Regions from separate parts of the Homo sapiens genome. Here region 1 is linked to region 2. The links are contacts of gene promoters, found by promoter capture Hi-C in human tissues and cell types (Jung and others, 2019). All regions are on one chromosome and are shown on one strand. Each heading gives the region's core, a stretch centred on a gene start or on the middle of the fragment in contact. The rest is flanking DNA. Distances are from core to core; before and after follow the strand shown. Region 1 has its middle 18 kb from the start of SP2-DT. Region 2 holds the start of TBKBP1 (TBK1 binding protein 1).

Evidence for each region. Contacts are between HindIII fragments. The study calls those that stand out against the background at their distance.
Region 1: a contact is called between a fragment that was not itself captured here and the fragment with the promoter of TBKBP1 in region 2, in 1 of the 25 tissues and cell types used here (IMR-90 fibroblasts).

What each region holds. Positions count from the first base shown.
Region 1 is chr17:47,875,720-47,879,452 of GRCh38, reverse strand. It overlaps a transcript of SP6 not described here. Among named protein-coding and RNA genes, the nearest start is that of SP2-DT, 18 kb to the left of the region's middle. RefSeq lists a cis regulatory region at 1,368-1,945. The HindIII fragment of the contact is 3,905 bases long and covers 1-3,202 here.
Region 2 is chr17:47,692,016-47,695,410 of GRCh38, reverse strand. It overlaps TBKBP1 (TBK1 binding protein 1), which reads right to left and starts at 1,250. Exons shown (of 10, transcript NM_001394755.1): 1 at 1,217-1,250. RefSeq lists enhancers at 1-134, 135-814, 815-1,495 and silencers at 592-651, 902-1,031. The HindIII fragment of the contact is 16,798 bases long and covers 1-3,395 here.

The DNA of each region.
Region 1 (3,733 bases), core at 1-2,500, 180 kb before region 2:
CAAAAAGAATGGGAATTCTTTCCCTTATGCTTCCATGTTTCCCTGACTTCCTTTGGGTGATCTGTCTACTTGTGAAAATCTTTCCTGAGCGGAAAGGTGGATGGACCTCCCCTCTGCCACCTCCTCCCCTGCCAGCAGTCAGCTTCCTGTGCTCAGTGCAGGGAGCAGATCTAGAGGAGACCCTGTCAGGGAGCAGTGGTTAGATAGGGGAGGCGTAGTTCTTGACCACAGAGATGTCTCAGCCTGAGTGGGAAGACAGAATACATCCCTGATTCATCAGCAGAGACCAGAAACAAGGGCAGACAGCAACTGAATGGAATTATTGAGGTAGTGCTGGGAGAATGGGAAGAAGATACAGGGAAGGGGCTGAGTGGAGTTATTGGGGGAAAGCTTTCTAGAGGAGAATCTGAAATTGATTTGGCAGGGGATTGGGGGAGAGGCTAGTAAATGCCATTTACCCCCAAACTATGCCCATTCACCGGAGGAAGAAACCACCTAGGACTTCACTGTAAATCTGAGCCAGGATTGCAAATCACCCCCTTTTCCCCAGGCTCGGGTTGTGTGCTCAGATAAGGTGCCAACAATGGGGCGGGGCCATGGGAGGGGGAAACATGGGCTCCCTGGCCCATGGATGACCCAAAGTCGCTTAAATGAAAAAGAGAGGGGCGAGTTGAGCAGGTCCCAGTCTGGGTCTGGCCACTGTGAGTCAGGAAGCCGGGCAGTCTGATCCCATGAGCCAAATCCCTGAATCTCTGGGGCTTTAAAGGCTCTGAGTGTCCGGCCTCAAAGCCACCGACAGGTATGGATCTGCCCCCTCCCTGACCCCCTCTGCTTTCTGCCCTTTTGGTGCTCTCTGACCTCTGACCCTGGGGCCCAAGGAACCCATTCTGTCTGTAAGGCTGAGTTCAGTTCTGTCCCCATGCAGAGATTTGGGGTAGACCCAGGTAAAGATGGCAGAATGAAGGGGTGCTGGCAGACAGACACAGGGCAGGGAGAGGGAACTGAAGGAATCAGGGAAGTCAGAGAGCCCATGTTTCCCAGCTGATGGGAGGCGGGGCAATTCCTGGTGGCCCCTCCAGCAGGCACAGTGAAATTTAACCCTTCATTGGAGGGTGGCAGGAGGAGGTTTGTGAAAGTGTGGATGGGTAAGGAGACGGTGGAGGTGGAGAAAATGGAGCAATTAAGATGGGTCCCCAAAGACCCCTTTATTTGAGTGCTAATTGCTGTTAGAGGAAGTAAATTTGAAGGAAGTATCAGGAGGCAGCACCCTTCAGCTCTGGGTCTGACCCCTTAGGGACATCATGGGGTCCCCCATCAATCCCTGCTCTGGATAGACCCAAGTCGGGGCAGCCCAGGGTGTCTCTTCAGGGACTTCAAAGGCCTTGACTTAAGAAGTCTTCTCAAGGGGAAGGACACCCTGTTTTGTTGGGGGAGAGAGAGAGAGGGTGTCTATTGAGCCTCTGGACACTCTCCTCTAGCCCATGGGAACTGGCACTGCCTGACCACCTAGGGGAGGCTTGGAGCCTGGCTGAGCCCCAGTCTTAGGAGGGAGGGAAGAGGGTGGCGAGGGAGTGGGATGTCTCTTCCGCCTGGTAGATTAGTGACTCTGAGACAGGAGAGGGCCTGTCACCGGGCCCATAAATAAAGCAGCCGAGTCTCTCCCTCCATCTGTGTTTATCTGTCTGGCCTTGAGTTTCCGGGAGAGGAGATGTCTCGGCACCCCCAGCATCAAACACCAAGCGCTGGAGGGGAGGAGGGGCAGTCTCCCTCCCTTCGCCTTCCCTCTCAACCTCTATTCCTGCTTCCTCAAATCTCATCCTCTGAGGCCCTCCCTCTTCAGCCTAGACACTGACTCCAGGAAGCCCTCTGAGACCAGGGGGTCGGGGCTACAGAGTGGGGAGTGTGGTCTGGGGTCTCTGCCACCTTTTCCCATTAGTGCCCACCCTTTGTAGACTGAGGAGAAGGTGCCTTGGGGCCCAGAGAGAAATGAAAGGTGGGAATCAACAGGGTGCTGGGAGGCCTCTGTGGAAGACCCTCTGATCCCAGGGAAGGGTCCAGGGAAGCCCCCAAGTGATGGTGAAGGGCCAGGGGGGACCTGCAGGCAGAGAGAGCCTGGTGGATCCCCAGCCCCTCTCAGGGCATGGCAGGCCATGAGGAGAAGACCCTGCCTGTCACCTCCTATCCTGGCTAACTCTTCTTGACAACACCCTCCCTCCCTCCCTCTTTCTACCTCCGTGGATCCCTGAAACTCCAGGCTGTTCTTAGAACCCAGGACCTGCCACCAGGGCTTTTCAAAGTGTGGTCACCAGACCACCTACAGCTACATCACTGGGAAGGGGAAGGGGAAATGCTTGTTTCTTTTTTTTTTTTTTTGTTTTGAGACAGAGTCTTGCTCTGTAACCCAGGCTGGAGTGCAGTGGCACGATCTTGGCTCACTGCAAGCTCCGCCTCCTGGGTTCATGCCATTCTCCTGCCTCAGCCTCCCAAGTAGCTGGGACTACAGGTGCCCGCCACCACGCCTGGCTAATTTTTTGTATTTTTAGTAGAGATGGGGTTTCACCGTGTTAGCCGGGATGGTCTCAATCTCCTGACCTCGTGATCCGCCTGCCTTCGGCCTCCCAAAGTGCTGGGATTACAGGCATGATCCACCGCGCCCAGCCGGGGAAATGCTTGTTTCAGTGCAGATTCCTGGGCCCCCATAGACTCACTGGATCAACAGAGGCTTGAGGACTTGGGTTTTTGTTTTCTTTTCTTTTTTTTTTTTTTTTTTTGAGACAGAATTTCACTCTTGTTGCTTAGGCTGGAGTGCAATGGTGCGATCTCGGCTCACTGCAACCTCCACTTCCTGGGTTCAGGCAATTCTCCTGCCTCAGCTTCCCAAATAGTTAGGATTACAGGCATGTGCCACCACACCTGGCTAATTTTTGTATTTTTAGTAGAGACGGGGTTTCGCCATGTTGACGAGGCTGGTCTCAAACTACTGACCTCAGGTGATCTGCCCACCTCGGCCACCCAAAGTGCTGGGATTACAGGCGTGAGCCACCGCGCCCAGCTGAGGACTTGGGTTTTAATGGTCATCCATGGTAATGCGGGTGTAATTCAAGTTTGAGAAACACCTATTTTCCTACATGAAGCCAGCCACTCTTGTTCACCCCATCCCCACTGCTGAGCTCGGGGCCCAGGACATAGTAAGTGTTCAATAAACATCCATTGATTGAATGCATTTCTAGACAGTGTCTATTCCTTTTTTCACTCCAGGTCTTCTTCTCTTCTTCAACCACCTCGAATCTACCAGAGGATCCCAAGTCCCTGTTTTCTGCTAAGGTGATAATTCCAGAATATGTCAGCCAGACCCACAGTGACACATGTCTTTAAACAGAACATGGTACTCACAGAAACACTCTAATGGTAGGGTTTTTTGGCAACAGGGCAGGTTAGTGGGGAGCTCACTGTGACAGGGGAGGCTCCTCAGTTCTTCTCAGAGTCCACAGGAACCACCTGCTTCACTCACCCTCAGGGAATGATGGTGGGGTGCAGGGCTCCTGTGCTGAGGGCAAGGAGTGTCAGGACCCAGGGAAGGGGAAGATCAGAGAGAAGGAAAAAGATCGAAAGTGTGTGAAAGAAGAGCCACAGTTAAAGGAGGTCTAAGGGCAAAAGGAGAGCACTGTTACACAACTCAGGTCAGTGGCCCTGGAAAGTTTTCAGAGAATCAGGCATCCCAGCCAGGAATGCA
Region 2 (3,395 bases), core at 1-2,500:
CCAGGTGGAAGGGGACGCGAACGAATTCCCAAGGCTGTCTCAGGGTGCCCGCGCACCGGGAAATGGGGAACCCTACGAGGGGGCAGGAATGACTCAGGCTCCCGAAAGCAGGAGTAGGCAGTGAGGGGGTGCGTGTGTACTTCTCTCGGGCCTGGTTATGAATGTGTGTCTGGGGTTGGCGTATGGGGGGAGTGTGCGTCTGTGAATGAGTGTAGGTGTGTCAGTCAATGAGTGCCTTCGGGGTCGCAGGGGCGTCGGGACGGAGTGGGGCAGCGACCAGGAGGCTGGTGTGTGCACGCGTGCGTGAGCGCGTGGGCAGGGTGGCACGTCCGGGCCGCGTGTCACGTGAGACGCGAGGGGACTGTCCGAGGTGTGTGCGCGCGCTGGAGCGTTATGTGCACCCCGGAGAGGGGGCTCGGCAGGGAGCTGTGAGTTCAGACAGCGGGGCCCCCAGGTCGGGCTGCAGGAGCTTGGGGTGCAAAGGGCTCCGGCGCAGGCTCCAATTCAATCCACCCCCCCCCCTCCGCCACCCACAGGCCCATCTAAGTGCCAGGGAAACGCGAGTGACTGGGTCTGAGTAAGGAGTGTGTGCGCGCGTTTGTAGGGCCGGCCCCACCTTTAACCCTCTCCTTCCCACGCCATCCCCTCCCCCCAGCTCCGCGCGCCAGCGCTTACCACACCCCCCCAGACCCCCGCCCGCCCCTCTGCGCCCACCCCGCTGGCGGGGCTCTGTCCCCGAGGCCGCACCACAAATGCCTCCTTCCTCCGCATTCCTCTCTGGGCCCAGCGCCCGGGTGAGCGCAATGGAAGGCGGCTGGGGAAGGGGTGAGTGCCTCTGTCGGCCCGGGCCCCTCCTGCGGCCCCTTTAAGAGCCGCCCTTTAAACCCCTTTCGCTCGGCCGACAGAAATTGTCGCCCCTCCCCTCTCGGGGGCCGAGACCACGCAGCCCCCTCCCCCACAACCGGCCGAGCCCTGGGCCCCCGGACACCCTCTCGGGGCCGGGGAAGGGGCTCCGGGAGTGGCGCGGCCTGAGGAACGGCGGCGGAGGGGGACGCGAGGGGATGAGGGCGGCCGACACCGGACCCCTTCCCTCCCAGCCATCCCGTGCGGCTGCCAGCCGCCCTCCTGCCGCCTCCTCCTGCCCACCCCGCGACCCCTGGGGCCCAGCCCGGGCGCCGCTCCCCTCCCCCAGCCCTAGCCCCAGCCGGGGACTCACAGCTGCTGCCGGTTCCTGCTTGTAATCGCAGCTTACCCCCTCCGCCTGCTCCCTCCCCAAACGGGCACCAGTGCCCCCACCCCCCTGGTACCGCGCTCTGCTCCTCGCCCTGTCGCCGCCGCCGGGTCTCTCCCCACCCCCCACCCCTCCCCCCAACCCCCTCCCTCCCGTCCGCCCCGCTCCTCCTCCGCCGCCGCCGCCTCCTCCGCCTCCTCCTCCCCGGCTGCTCCGGGTTTCTCCAGCTGGGAAGGCGCCCCGGACCCCGCCGCTGCCACCACCACGTGGCGAGAGGCGGCGGCCCCTACGGTGCGGCCCTTCCTGGCAGCGCGCCCGGAGCCCACCGGCTCCCTGCGGCGCCAGCGGCCCGCGCTGGCGCCCCCTCCCCGACGCCTCCCGGCGCAGTGTGGCGTGGTGGCGTGTGTTGGGGGCGTCTGCGGTCAGTGCAGGGGCCCGGCTGATGCTTTGGTTGTTTTGGTTGTTTAGTTATGGGCTGTATATTTGGGGAGGAAGTGGGGCTATTTATCTGGCTTTTTTTTTTTTTTTTTGGTCTTTGCGCTTTTGAGAAGGAAATCATTAGACCTGCTCTTCGTTGCTCTTGGTAAAAGGGGCATTGCTGCGATAAATACATTGAACATAGGGTACAGAGAGATTAAAGCTGTAACTTCTTTGGAAGTGAGAGTAAACTAAGGAGGTCAAAGATTCATTCATGAAGAAGGACAGCCATCTCCCTCCCCACACACCACTCCCCGGCCACCCTCAAGTACCCACAGGTCAGGGAAATGAAGAAACAACAGATGTCACCCTGTGCACAAAGATTATTTGAGCACCTGCCAAACTGCTGGGCAAGAGAAACAAGTTTTTTGCTACTTTCCTGCTGTGTGACCTTGGGCAAGTTACCTTAACCTTTCTAAGCTGGAGATCATGCCCCACCTAAGCACTCTCATGGAGGAAGAATGGGGATCAGAACTAAATACAGCAGCCTGCGAATGCTCAGGAAGTGTTAACGATGTCATTTTGAGTATTGCCTGGTGGATTAAATAATGTGGACAGAGGCATGGTCAGCCTAGCTGCAGGTAGAGAATGATCAGGGGAACCCTGGAGCACTCTGGCTGAAGAGCATCCTCTGTGGACAGGGAGGCAAAGCCCGGAAGCAGGGGATAAGCTGGGCGGGGGCTTTTGGCAGATTCAGCCTTAGCTGCGAAGACTGCTGGGAACCTGAGCCTACCTTTTTGGCTCCTGAGGTGGGATGGGGGTGGGAATCTCCGAGGGGGAGGATGGAAGGAAAAGGTTTCTTGCTCTCTCTGAGCTTTGAAAAGCAGCAGCTGCCATCTTTCCTCACTGCTGGGAGAAAATTGGACTGAGAGGTGAGCTTCTACCAGGAGAGCCAGCCAGAGCTCTAGACTCATTCTCTTCATAGAAGGGGGGATTCTCAGTGGCTTCCTTCCTCCTCCTCCTGCTGGGTTCCCTTTCAGTCTTTCCTGCCAGCACTGGCTCCCGTTTGTAGTCCAGAACAGGAAGGCAGGTCAGCCACTTGTTCTCTGAGGCACTAGCTTTCTCTGAACCATGTGGGATGACCTATCTACCCTCTAGATATGAAGGCAAACCAGTGGGGACATCTGTCACCCCACTAATCCCAAGGGCTAGGCAGATGTTCCTTTCCCTAGTACTCCCCAAGATCTCTTCTGAAGCAAGGGACCAGGCAAAAGATTGGAGGCTAGACTAGGAGGTGTAGGGTTGTCTCTGGGACCCTCGGTGACCTTGGACTTGGCCACAAACAGGACCCATAAGACCAACTGGCAAGCCCTCCCTCACTGGAAAAAGGGGTCCCAGGACCCTCTAAGCACACACTGTCTGGGATGAGTCATCAGCCCCCTGCTGCTGCTTGGATGCTCAGGGCCTAATTGAGTCACCTGGCAGGGTGCAGCCAAATGCTTCTATCCTTGGTTCTAGGTGGTTGGTGGCAAAAGTCCATTAGGCCTGGTTTAGGTGCCCTAAAATCCTCCCCCTCCCCCAATCTGGACCTGATCTCATTGCATTCTCCATTTCTAGTTCTGCTGCTCATACCAGGCAGTTCTGAGAGCAGAGATTATATCCCATCCATCCTTGTATTCTAAGGTGCCCTGAGGGTTGGTACCTGCTCGTTGTATATTTATTCGGCAAAGATTTCTTGAACATCTAT